Linked DNA regions of Homo sapiens: region 1 is linked to region 2. Evidence: promoter capture Hi-C in 16 types of primary human blood cells and fetal thymus (Javierre and others, 2016). All regions are on one chromosome and are shown on one strand. Each heading gives the region's core, a stretch centred on a gene start or on the middle of the fragment in contact. The rest is flanking DNA. Distances are from core to core; before and after follow the strand shown.

What was found. Contacts are between HindIII fragments. The CHiCAGO score rates a contact against its expected background, and 5 or more counts as called.
Region 1: a contact is called between a fragment that was not itself captured here and the fragment with the promoter of SUSD5 in region 2, in 3 of 17 cell types (endothelial precursors, M2 macrophages and M1 macrophages). The highest score is 8.7, in endothelial precursors.

Annotation. Positions count from the first base shown.
Region 1 is chr3:33,353,574-33,360,775 of GRCh38, forward strand. It overlaps FBXL2 (F-box and leucine rich repeat protein 2), which reads left to right. Exons shown (of 15, transcript NM_012157.5): 3 at 5,394-5,448; 4 at 5,710-5,784. Among named protein-coding and RNA genes, the nearest start is that of FBXL2, 80 kb to the left of the region's middle. The HindIII fragment of the contact is 2,983 bases long and covers 2,024-5,006 here.
Region 2 is chr3:33,215,504-33,222,219 of GRCh38, forward strand. It overlaps SUSD5 (sushi domain containing 5), which reads right to left and starts at 3,307. Exons shown (of 5, transcript NM_015551.2): 1 at 3,183-3,307. The coding sequence starts at 3,294. The HindIII fragment of the contact is 11,893 bases long and covers 2,359-6,716 here.

The DNA.
Region 1 (7,202 bases), core at 2,265-4,764, 140 kb after region 2:
ACAAAACTATAGCGACATTAGAAAGATCAGTGGGGCTGGGCACAGTGGCTCACGCCTGTAATCCCAGCACTTTGGGAGGCCAAGGCAGGAGAATTGCTTAAGGCCAGGAGTTCAAGACCAACCTGGACAACATAGACCCCATCTCTTCAAAAAATTTTTTTTTCTAATTAGTTGGGCATGGTGGTGTGGCTTTACTTTCCCCTGCTTGGGAGGCTGAGGCGGGATGATCGAGTGAGCCCAAGAGGTTGAGGCTGCAGTGAGCCATGATCATACCACCATACTCTAGCCTGGGTGACAGTATGAGACCATGTCTGGGAAGAAAAAAATCGGTAGTGGCCAAGGGTTCATGAGAAAGAGAGGAGGGATGAATAGGTGAAACATGTTGTTGACAGTAAACTATTCTATGTGATACTGTAATGGCAGCTACATGACATGCATTTGGCAAAACCTCTAGAACTAACTATATAATACAGAGTGAACTTTGTTGTAAACTATAGACCTTAGTTAATAATAATGTATCAATTTGGTTCATTAATTGTAACAAATGTACCACACTAATACAACATGTTAATGATAGGGGGAACTATGTGTGTCTGTTGGTGGGGGTGTATATAGTAACTCTCTATACTACTTGCTCTTATTTTAAATAAAAATTTTAGGCTGGGCCCAGTGGTTCACGCCTGTAATCCGAGCACTTTGGGAGGCCGAGGCGGGTGGATCACCTGAGGTCAGGAGTTCGAGACCAGCCTGACCAATATAGTGAAACCCCGTCTCTACTAAAAATACAAAAATTGGCCGGGTGTGGTGGTGGGCGCCTGTAATCCCAGCTACTCAGGAGGCTGAGACAGGAGAATTGCTTGAACCTGGAGGCAGAGGTTGCAGTGAGCCGAGATCACGCCACTACACTCCAGCCTGGGTGACAGAGTGAGACTCCATCTGGAAAAAAAAAAAATTAAAGGGGAGATAAACAAATGTGAAAGGTGTTAAAATTGTGCATGTGCCAAATGGAAATATTTTACAGTCTGTAACAAAGGAATTATAAAATAATTGAAAGGCAGGAAAAAAAAACCTATAGTAAACATCATAATTGAATAGTGGCAGCTTTTTCTCTGAGATGAGAATGAGACAAAGATGTATTTCATTATCGGTTGTATTTATCATTGTACTAGAGAAGATCATAGCCACTGTAATAAGCAAAAGAAATAGAAAGTATAATTATTGGAAAGGAGGAAAGTTAGTTCATTATTCACTGGTGAATTGATATTTTATGTGGAAAATCAGAATGAATGGACAAATTTAGAAATATTGTTGGGTACAGGGTCAGTATATGAAAATTAACATTATATACTGGCAGCAATTAAAGAATGACATTTAAAATATTCCTTTTTTTTGAGACAGGGTCTCCTTCTGTTGCCCAGGTTCATAGCTCACTGAAGGCTTGACCTCCCCGGGCTCTGTTAGTCCTACCATCTCCACCTCCTGAGTAGCTGGGACTATGGGCATGCGTCACCACACCTGGCTAATTACTGTATTTTTTGTAGCAATGGGGTTTCACCATGTTGCCCATGCTGGTCTCGAATTCCTGGGCTTGGGTGATCCTCCTCCCTTAGCCTTCCAAAGTGCTGGGATTATAGGCATGAGCCACCACTCGCTGCCAAAAAATATTCCATTTTAATAAGAACGTCAAATAACCAGGAAAAACAATCTAAAGATGAGCAAGGTATCTATCTGGAAAACTACAAAAATTACTGTGAAAAATTAAAGAAATCCTAAATAAATTTTGAAATGGATCATGTTTCTGGATTGGAAGATTTAATATTGTAAAAATCTCAATTATTCCCAAATTTTCTACAAATTCAGTGCAATCCCAGTAAAAATTTCAGAAAGTTTTCTTGTAGAAATTGATATGCTGATTCTGAAACTTAATAGGAAATTCCGAGGATCAAGAATAACTAAGATAATCTTGATGAAGAAGAACAAAGTTGAAGGACTTACGTTACCAGACATTGTGACTTATTATTAAAGCTTCATAATTAAAACAGCCTTAGTGGCACAAAGACAGACTAATGGAGCAGAATACAAAGTCCAAAAGTATATCCAATCCCTTACTCCCCTGTGATTATTTATAACCAGGGTGCTATTGCAGTGCTTGCCTTGTAAAGCTGAGGCTATCACATTTGAGATAAGGAAGCACTTTCTAGGAAAGAATGTTTTGAAGGAGTCAGAACTCAGTTTGCCACTCATGTCGCTATCTCCGTTTCTATTGACAGTATCCCAGGCTGTGTAATTCAGGGCATTACTTTTACTCGTCGAAACATGAGTCAGGAATTGGCTTTGGTGTCAGTGTGGTAGTTTGGAGTATTGCCACGCCTATTTGTGCAAATTCAACTACTTTCAGTTTAAAAGGTTGGGGAGAGATGGGAAATAATGTAAATACTTTAGGCAATCTATTTTTTCATTCAGTAATCATAAAACTAGGTATGAGATGAGATGAGAAATGTGAATTCCTGTTGCACCTGTTGGTTCCTATGTGTCTCAGCGTGTGAGCTCTTGCTTCACTTGTGAGTGAAGCATGAGTCCAGTTTGTTCCAAACAACATACTCACTAAACGAAAACTACTTCATTTATTATTATCAGTTAAGAAATAGCACTGTCGACCTAAATAAGGAAACTGAGGCAAAATTAATCTAGAGAGTTTATTTGGGGCAAGTTTGAGATTGCAGCTCAGGTAACACTGGGAAGTGATCCCGAGAATAAAGGAGTTGCTCGAGTTGGTTTGTTTTGTTTTGTTTTTTTGAGATGGAGTCTCGCTCTGTCGCCAGGCTGGAGTGCAGTGGCGGATCTCGGCTCACTGCAACCTCTGCCTCCTGGGTTCAAGCGATTCTCCTGCCTCAGCCTCCTAAGTAACTGGGACTACAGGTGCACACCACCACGCCCAGCTAATTTTTATATTTTTAGTAGAGATGGGGTTTCACTGTGTTGACCAGGTTGATCTCAATCTCTTGACCTTGTGGTCCACCCGCCTCAGCCTCCCAAAGTGCTGAGATTACAGGTGTGAGCCACTGTGCCCATCCTGCTCGAGTTTCTAAAGAAAAAAGGATGAATCAGGAGAGGGGCAATTACAAAAGTTGTTTTTGGGAACTCTTACGGGTTTCCAGAAGTAGCATTGATTAGTGATTGATCGTACATTGTTGAACTATGGGGTAGGAGTTAGAGTATCAAGCATATGGTATTGTTAGGTTACTTTATAGCTACTTGTGTCAGTCACTCTAGAGCCCACATAGCGGCTCACATCTCTTAGATTAAAAGTTTCTTTTCTTTCTCAGGATCTAGCCCAATCCTGAGGGAAAAGCAGCTGTGTTAAGCGTTCCAAAGCAGTATATGTAGTGGTCATGGCTTGTGCTCTTGAACCAGACTACCTGGGTTCAAATCCTAGTTCAGTGTGCCCTGGGCAGGTTACTTAACCTCTATGCTCAGTGTCCTTATCTGTAAAATGGAGATAGTAATAGCACAACACCTCATAGCAGTGAACTAGCATATAAACCATGGTTGGCACATAGTTGGTGCATAATCAATGTTAACTATTTTTGTTATTACCAGTATTGTTATTACTGAGACGTGATAAAGGTGGTATGCTCTTAAGGTATTTTCAAGGGAAACAGCTAACTCTTTTTTTACCTTTGGCTTATGCTTTTAGAACCCAATCCCTGCATGAAATATGATTCTACTGTACCAGGCTAGTTTCTCTGTTTGGTGTTTGTTTCTGTAGGGAGCTGATAATCAGATGTGGCTAGCTGTGGGATGGTCATATGTCACAGAACACAGCTATTAGGGGCAGGAGAGCCTTTGTGTTGGGCAAGGTAGATGTGTAGATATCCTAAAATATATTGAATATGTATGTTTAAGTACACATATTTTAGCCACCAGCATTTTTCTATGTACAAAGATCCACTGAGTCTTTTTTTTTTTTTTTTTTGAGACGGAGTCTCGCTGTCGCCCAGGTTGGAGTGCAGTGGCGCTATCTCGGCTCACTGCAGGCTCCGCCTCCCGGGTTCACGCCATTCTCCTGCCTCAGCCTTTTGAGTAGCTGGGACTACAGGTGCCCGCCACCTCGCCCGGCTAATTTTTTGTATTTTTAGTAGAGATGGGGTTTCACCGTGTTAGCCAGGATGGTCTCGATCTCCTGACCTCGTGATCCGCCCACCTCGGCCTCCCAAAGTGCTGGGATTACAGGCGTGAGCCACCGCGCCCAGCCAAGATCCACTGAATCTTTTAAAGTCAGTGTAGCCCTTATTATGCTTCTATCCTTTGCTTTTCACTAGAAAATGATTGTAGCCTATATTGTAGGATGGCATCTATGCAGTCAGTATCCCATGGTACTGCATGTGGGTGCATTATTGTAGGGTACAACACTTTCATGTTTTATGATTCTACTCTTCTTCCCTGAGTCCGTGGATTTTTATCTCACCACCGATTGTTGCCTTTGAAGAATTTTGAGGAACATTATAGGTGGCTGTTCGCCATCTTAACCACTCTCCCCCTTCCACACTCAGAGGCACAGACTCTCATATTTACTTTCCAGGACTCTGAAAACTGAGGCACTACTCTTGTTCCTGACTTCAACCCTGTCCACCCTTCTTCTCACAGAAAAGCTGCCCTTTGTTTTTAGCTGTCACTCTGCAGTGCTGAGGCGCACACGGCTGTTTGCTCACATACTATGAGCAGCAGCTCCTCTCCTTGACTGCCAGAATGTCGAGGCTTCACTCAGTCCCCTGCCATGCTGGCAGCTACTGCTTCCTCTAAGGCATTACTGATGCCAACCAAGATTTTGTTTGCTTCTGTCTGCTTTTCTTCCCCCCACCTCTTCCCGCCCCATCTTTCCTATGTTCTCTGGCTCCTTGGCTTTTGCTTAGGAAAAACTGATCACTTATAGACTTTGCCAACTAATGAGCTCCATCTTTCTGCCAGGCAAACAAATACTTCAAACCAAATGGGCTTTGTCATCAAGCTTTTTTTGACAGTGTTATTTGAGGCTCAGGCATCTGAGCCTGTTCAGTGCATCTACCACCAAAAGAGGGCTTATGCTAGAGAGTTGGTCTTCAAATAGAACCAGTTATGGTCTTTCCTGTGTCCATTACTTAGAACAAGGGAAATATAAGCTTAATGAGTTCTAAGGTAATTTGTATTGTGTGTCCAAAATAGCTTCTGAACATGCAAACACTTAATATTTCACTGTAGTGATGTAAAGTTATAGTGCACTTGTATATTTCAGATTGAGGAATCTTGAAAAAACTTATGTATCCAGGTGGCGGATTAGAGTTTATCTTTCAAGTTATAATTATCCTGAAATGTTAACACCATCTCGTTTTTGTGTTTTTTTCCTCTCTCTGTAGAATATTTTCCTTCTTGGATATAGTAACTTTGTGCCGATGTGCACAGATTTCCAAGGTAGAGTATTCACCAGATTTTTTAATCAATAAATATCAAGTTTTATTAGAATGAGTTTTAGTTCAAATTACTGAAAATTAAAATTTTATTATCTTTTATACTTAATATAACATAATGGTATAATTTTGCATTTGATGATTAACTTAATATACATCAAAAATAGGAGTTTGGAAATAAAGGTTAATCAAGACTTTCTTTAATAGTCTCAATAAATGTGTTTCTTTCATCCCAATCCCTCTTCCTTTACCTCCCACCTTCCAGGCTTGGAACATCTTAGCCCTGGATGGAAGCAACTGGCAAAGAATAGATCTTTTTAACTTTCAAACAGATGTAGAGGTAAGTTAGCTTTGGTTTAGACAAAAAACTTTTTAAAAATATGAGTAGCTGTTCCCCCTTTCCTGACTTTTTATTTTACTGCATTTAGATCTAATATTAAAGTGCTGAGGTAGAACAGAAAGAAGAAAAACTGGAAGGGATTTGCATACATCAAAACAAAACCCTGCTTGCATTTTAAATTGTATCAGTAACAGATTTTTTTCCCTTGTTTATGTTTATAGTCTGAATTTTACTACTCAGCTTTTTAAAGCCACACACCTGCATCATTATCACCTGGTTCAGTGCTTTAACCTTAGGAGACTTGACAAATACTTATTGATCTAGAAAATCCACCGAGAATTCTAATTCAGCATCAAAAGTGGAGAAATGGCAGAAGCAGAAGCCCAAGAGTGAGGCTGGAGATCTAAAGTGTCACCCTAGCTTGGCCACTTAAGTCATATAATCTCTCAGTATTCTGTTTTATTATCTATAAAATAAAGTAATAATTAAGTCTTATACAATTATTATATACAGAATATATAAGATTCTGATATATTTATCTGTAAATATGTAAATATCTCCATTTAAGTGTGGTAAACCTGATGAAATGAGGAAAGTTTATGTTAAAACAACTTTGATATTCAATACTAAATTTCTAACCAAAAAGAAAGTTTAGGCAGGGAATAAAAAAAGAGCATTGTACTTAGGAATTGTCTGAAGTGCTGGTTTGAGGGTCTTGAGATTCTGAAGTTTATTTTCTACCTAATATAAAACCTAATTGATTTCCAGTTTAGCAAACTTACAGTAGTGGAAATGCATTTTAATTTAGTTACTCACATAGTATGTTTGCTATGTGTTTTTACCAAGATGTATATATTGGTTTTTTTTTGTTTGTTTTGGATAAGGAAATGAATGTGTTTAACAGTAGGATTGAGCTAAGCAATTTCCTGCTAGCTACTTAACCTGGCTTGACCTAGACAAACTAATGATCTAGGTCAGTTGTGGAGACTCTTCACCTCCTTCTCTAGGTTACTTACTGCCTGAGAGTCTCTGGTTCTCATCTTAAACCAGTGGAGCACAATACTTACAGTAAGTGGGGCAGAGCAGAAGATTTCCCTTTATTAAATAAAGGGGGAAACCCCTTATTTCTGTCATATTGTGGTGCTCTGCTCTTGGAAGGGGGCAGGGACCTCAAGGATTCACGCCCATCCTGGAAAGATAAGCTCTAGTTCCTGGCTTAACACTGTAGTTTCTGAATTAGGTGTTCTTTAGTGCTCTTTTGAGACTTAACAGCAGTGATTACAATAGTACTCCACCTAAACATGCCAGCATTCCATGCCAGTGAATATAATTGCCCTTCAAACTGATCATACCTAACTCTTTGTTCACTATGTTTACTTAGTGATGATGTGGAGGACATTTAATTTCTAAAAATTGTA
Region 2 (6,716 bases), core at 2,057-4,556:
TGTTGTTCAAATTGCTTTACAAATACTCATTAAATTAATTCTTATGACAACTCTATGATATAGGTGGTATTATCATCCTCATTTTATAGTTAAGGTTTAGTATTAATGCTTGTCCGAGATCACACAGCAGAGATACAGAACCAGGCAGTATGGCTCCGTTAGTGATTTTAATCACTTGGTTATACTGCCTCTCAATAACAAAGCAATAACTAGGAAAATCCCCTTGTGCATGGAAATTACAAAATATACTTCTAAATAAACTGTGTTCAAAGAAGAAATCCCAACTGAAATAAAACATGTCAACTCAAGGGCCAAAAACTTATGGAGAAACTAAAGTAGTTTAAGAGAAATTTATAGCCTCAGATCTCACATTATTAATACCAAAAAAGTATGGTTGAGAATCAATGATCTAAGTTTCTAGCTCAAAAAACAAACACAAAAGTCCCACAAAATCAAATCTTCTAACGTAGAAGGAGGAAATAATACAGATAGAGCAGAAATCAGTAAAACGGAAAGCAGACACACAATCAAGAAAATAAAGCCAAAAGTTGCTTTTTTCAAATGAATAATAAAACGGATAAACCCCTACTAAGACTGATCAAGACAAAAAAAGAGAAAACACAAAGTACCAATATCAAGAATGAAAGGGAACATCACTACAGATCCCGTGGACCCTGAAATGATAATTAGAGATTATTACATTGTATATGCCACATTAGACAATCTAAATGAAGTGGGGGAAAAACTTTAAAAAATAAAACTTAGCAACATTGACACAAAATTAATTTTAAAATCTGAATACTTCTTTATCTACCAAACAAATTAAATTCATTATTTAAAATCTTCCTACAAGAAAACCTTCAGACACAGATGATCTCACACCAAAACAAACAAACAAAAGCCCTCACCCGCAGAAACCCTTTCAGAGTTAAAGAAGGAGCAACTTTACAATTTGGTTTAGGAACCATCATACGTTTGATATCAACACTTGGCAAAGATATTATAAAAAATGAAAATTACAGGCTAATATGTTTCATAAACATAGATTCAATAATCCCAAACCAGCTTCCCTCACTCCAGGCTCAGTTCTAGGTCTTCTTGCTGTAAAATTTTTCCTTAGGATTCTGCCCACGCACATGATTTCAAAGACCATCCTTATACAGATGACACGTTTTTAGAAATAGTTTCTCTCCAAATCTATCTCTTCAAACATCTGTAATTCATCATACTTAAGCTGAGCATTTCTTCTTCTTCCTCCCGTCACCATAGCACACAAATAACTAAATGTAGGAACTGGTGGCAGCTAAGAATTTAGTACCAAAAAGAATCCTTTGATAATATAGCTTATAACTCTTCCTGGTTCTAGTATAAAAGTTGGAGCTCATAAAATTGAGTTTACTATAAGGAAGTATACCTATAATTGTCCACTGAGGAAGTGGGGAAAGAAAAGGAAGGAGAATGAAGAAAAGGAATCATTTCTGGCAAGCAGTAACAAAGAATCATGTGCTCTGGTGTTGTCCTTACTTTCTCTTTGACCAGTGACATTTCTGCCTTTAATTTTCTATGACCCGTATCAAGCTAGACAGGCACAAAATATTGATCCTTATCCACATGGCATTCCACTTAAACAGTTATAATGGGATGAAACTCTAAAACCTTATGGATTGCAAAAATATTTATTTAAAAGGAATTAAAGTTGGCACAATATATCTTGTTCAAAGATTAATATTAGCTCCAATTTATTCTACTTGCATTCTTTAAAATCAGCTTAATTTTCATGGCTCAATGTCAGTCAAAAAACACTACAGTGAAGAATTATCAGTAAACTGCTAATAGGTATGGGATTCTTTTGAGGAGTGATGGAAATGTTCTGGAATTAGATGCATGCAAACCATGGTTTTCACAACCTAATGAATATACTAAAACCCACTTAACTGTATATTTTAAAATGACAAATTTTATGTGAAATACATGTCAATTAAAAAAATTAGCAGTGGTTACTAACAGCCTTCAAAGTTAAAAATGTTTTGTCTCTAACACTCTCTCTGAGGATATGGAGAAATACGACATTCATCCTTAATTAGGAACGGAGAGCTTTTCAAGCCTGCACTTAAAACAGAGAGCACTAAAAACTCTACGACCTAGACGGTTTTTTCCTTGGCTTTCCCCTTTTCCTGACAACCATGCTTTTTTTTTTTTTCCCCATGTCTTCTAGTTTCACTCAATATCGTTGGCTAAACAAGAATCACATTTTAAAATATACAACGCATCCTAAATTGACGGAGGGCTTTTCTCTTTTATCAGTCTAATTCGTCCTAAGCTAGAACTACCTCATGGGTGTGAGAACTGCTGGCTTTAAGCTTGCTTCCTTCAGATGCTCCTGTACCAAGTCAGCGGGATTTTGTTCTAATATGAAAACACAGCTGAATTAGCTTTTCAAAAGGGAATGGATACAGAGCTCCAATCCTGCTCATTTTAGGGCAAGTATTACAAGCTAAATTCAGGCTGAAAAACCAAGCAAACGAACAAGAAGTGGATCAATTCTCAGAGAACCTGCCATAATCTGGCCCTTGCCCACTTCTCTACCTCATGTCTCAAGACGTCCCCTCGCCTCCAGGTACTTTGCTTTATCATTTGTCCCGTTTTTCCTGTCACTCAGAGACAGCCTTTGCACGTGCTTTTCCCTCTGGCCAGGCCATTCTCTCTCTCTTAGCCTCGCTGATTCCCACTCATCTTTCACGTCTTCCCGGACCAAGCCAAAATATCCGAGGGAGTTTTCTAACCATCGGCGGTGTCCTCAGGGGCACATTAATAGACGTTGAGAAACTGAGGGACGGCGGAAAATCACCCCTTAGCAGAGGAGGTTCTAGGGCACCTTAGAGGTGATTTCATTCGAGCTTTCTTGGAGACCTTAGGAAAGCCAGCGGCGGGACTGCGGGACCTACGCGCTCGGCGCTAAGGGAGGGTCCAGGCACCAGGCGGGCGTTTGGGCGCACGGGCACGCGGAGACTTGGTGGGCCAGGAGAGGGATGCTGGGTCGCAGGACCGCGGCTCGTTCGTTCCTCTCAGGCTTGCGCTTGCCGCTTGCCGGGCCGGTCAGAGGGAGCAGCCCCGGCGAGCTACGCCCTCCCTGCCCGGACCCCACGCTCCACCCCCCGCCCCGCCGCCTCCCGCACACTCACCATCCGCCCGCACCGAAAGGCGCGGCAGACCGAGCAGGAGCAGCGCCGCCGCCCAGAGCCCGGGGAGGCGTCTGTGCCAACGGGCAGGCGGGCTGGGTCCCTCGGCAGTCATGGTCCGGGAGTGCGCGGGCCAGCGGACTCGGGTGAGGGCTCTGGCTGCGTTTGGGGTTGCCCAGGCCACTGCCCAGCGTGCGCCACTCGGCTCTGCGCTCTGCGCTCGGCTCACGAATCGCAGGCTTCGCGCCGGGCGCGCCGAGAGGGAGGAGCGCGGAGAGCCGGGGGAGGCTCGGGACGCAGAGCCGGAGCGCCTGGGCCGCCGAACTCCCGGGGGTCTTCTCTGTGGCGCCGAGGAGGCGGCTGTAACCCGGCTCCGCCTTCGCGCTGGGCACCTGGAAACCTCGGTGCCAAAAGGGGCTGCGCTGGGCCGCGCGCTCTGCGGGTACAGCGGGGCGGAGGGCGAGGGCGCAGGGAGGCGGGGAGAGTAGCTAGCCGGCCGCAAGGAGCCCCCGCCCGTCTGGGGGACCCTTGGCGAGAGGGTGACGCAGTCTGACAGGCGGAGCCCCTCCGGCAGGGCCGTTAGACAACGAGTGTCTAACTCTGTCCTCGGCCTCTACTTTTCAACTGGCCTCCTCCCCCTCCCCACCAACACTCTTTTTTTTTTTTTTTTTTAATGAAGAGAGGAAAATCTAAGTTACCTACCACCCTCACTCTAAGGTGTGAAACGCATGGAATAGCGAAATTCCTCTTTCCTAAAAGCGAAGTTTGAGAGTCACTGAGGAAAGGATATCTTCAGGAACGCTTCCTTCACCACTTTTCCTGGTACGCTAGTATTTCTCAAGGAGCAGTAAGAGGGCTAGTGAGATTGTCACCATTATCACCCACCTCCCAAATCAGGGCTTTTTGACCTCGAAAGGGTCTGAGATTCGGACTCTGTCGGTCTGGTCTGGGAATCTACACTCTAAGTTAAAGTGTCCCAATGGATTCTGCTGCAGGGGTCCCTGTTTGACTTGATTCCTTCTTCCTGCTCGCCCCTAGCCTGTCTCCCTACCACCAGCCCTGTTCAGTGAAAGAAGAACTTGCTTTCTTCATAGGTAGAGTAATAAAGATCAGTATTGTTATAACTGAGGCATGCGCGGTGCTCTACAATTTGCAAATCCCTTTTATATTGATGTATGGGTCAACAAACATCTATTGAGTGCCCATACATGCCTGTCCCTGTGCTAGACCCTGAATGTGGCTGCAATCGGTCCTAAAAATGTTCACACTTAAATAAAATATACTTACAATTGAAAAAGTGATTGGTGCTAAAGGGGCAGATGATTATCCTCATTTAATGAACCAGGACACAGACATTGAAATAATTTACTTTCTTTTCACAGTAAGAACTTGGATTTGAATCCACATCTGATTTACTACAGGTGTCATTTTTCAGCTTGCATTAATTGTTGAAATGTACTGAAAAGATTTCTTCTCTCCTTATTACTTCCCATCAACTACAAGGGCTACTATTAATGAGTAATTATTTTGGATAATTAAACTTTGCTTTCAAAATACAAATACTGGCCGGACACGGTTGCCCAGGCCTGTAATCCAAGCACTTTGGGAGGCGGAGGCCGACCAATCACCTGAGATCAGGAGTTGGAGACCAGCCTGGCCAACATGGTGAAATTTCCATCTTTACAAAAATACAAAAATTAGCCGGGCGTGGTAGCTGTTAATGCAGTGAGGTGTTAAATGCAGTGAGGCCTGACAAGTATAAATGAATTTACTTAGCTCCTTCCCTTTTTTTTTTTTTTTTTTTTTTTTTTGAGATAGAGTCTCGCTCTGTTGCCAGGCTGGAGTACCGTGGAGCGATCTTGACTCACTGTAACCTCAGCCTCCCAGGTTCAAGCGATTCTCCTGCCTCAGCCTCCCGAGTAGTTGGGACTACAGGCGTGCACCACCACGCCCAGCTAATTTTTGTATTTTTAGTAGAGACGGGGTTTCACCATGTTGGCCAGATGGTCTCGATCTCTTAACCTCGTGATCCGCCGGCCTCGGCCTCCCAAAGTGCTGGGATTACAGGCATGAGCCACCACACCCGGCCAGCTCCTTCCCTTTTAACAGTTAGCTGGTAACCTAAGGAGTGAGACTTCACATGTCTGGACTGGAGGGGTCATTTTAAAGCCTGGTTAGTGCTGAGAACGGAGGGGAGGGATCAGAAGGTACCTGCCAAGAGCTACCAACTCACTCACTCAGGAGCTTTGCCTAGGAACATTTTAAAAACAGTCAATTGAATATTACTACTTAATTCTCCTAACATTTTCAAGATTATGCTTATTCACAATTGTCTTGGCCTGTCCTGATGTGAGGAGATGGCATGCTGTAAGGGTAATTGGTATGGTTGCTTTAGAAAACCGGCTGTTCCATCTAAACATATACCTGCCTTAGGACCCAGAAATTCCTCTCCTAGGATTATATCCAAAAGAATGAGAACCTATATTCACAAAAATATTTGTGCACAACTGTTCATAGCAGCTTTATTTGCAATGATCAAAAACTAGAAGGAATTCGGATATCATCAACAGATGAATAGAAAAACAAACTGTCATATTCACACAATAGAATACTATTCGACAACAGGAATGAACTACTGAATGAACTACTCAACACGTGAAAGAATCTCAAGGATAGCATACAGAGTGAAAGAAGTCTTACACAAAACAATTCATACTGTGTAATTCCATTTATATGAAGTTCAAGACAGGACAAAACTAATCTGTGGTGAAAACAGTCAACACAGTGGTTGCCTTTGATAGAACGGGAACACAAGGGAACATCTGAAGTGATGAAAATGTTCTATTCCTGATGGGGATGGTGGTCACATGAGTGTATATGTTTGTCAAACATCCCTAAACTGTACACTTGAAATCTTTGTATTTAATTGAATACTTATACTTCAGTAACAAATACTTTAAAAATCAGAATTTCAGTCCTTGCACTAAAAAATAAAGAAGGTTTAATAGAAGGCCAAGTGCGGTGGCTCACGCCTCTAATCCCAGCACTTTGGGAAGTGGGTGGATCACGAGGTCAGGAGATTGAGACCATCTTGGCTAACACAGTGAAACCCCATCTCTACTAAAAATACAAAAAATTAGCCAGGCGTGGTGGCACGTGCCTGTAGTCGCAGTTACTTGGGAGGCTGAGGCAGGAGAATTGCTTGACCTTCGGAGGCGGACATTGCAGTGAGCCAAGATTGTGCCACTGCACTCCAACCTGGGCGACAGAGCAAGACTCTGTCTTTAAAAAAAAAAAAAAAAAGTTTAATAGAAGAGAGTTTGATGAAAGGACCACATGCAGTGATGTGGACAGGACCGAGAGAACCAATAAGGGGTGGTGAAACTCCTGGGTCTAGCAACAGCTGGAAGCTGTAGCCATGGTGAGGCCTGAAGGTGTGAGGGAAGGTTGAGGTGTTACCAAACCAGCAACAGCTGTGGCCATGAAAGAGGCCGCCTGAAAAAAAGGATACCCATAGGTAGAAAAATCAAGATGCTG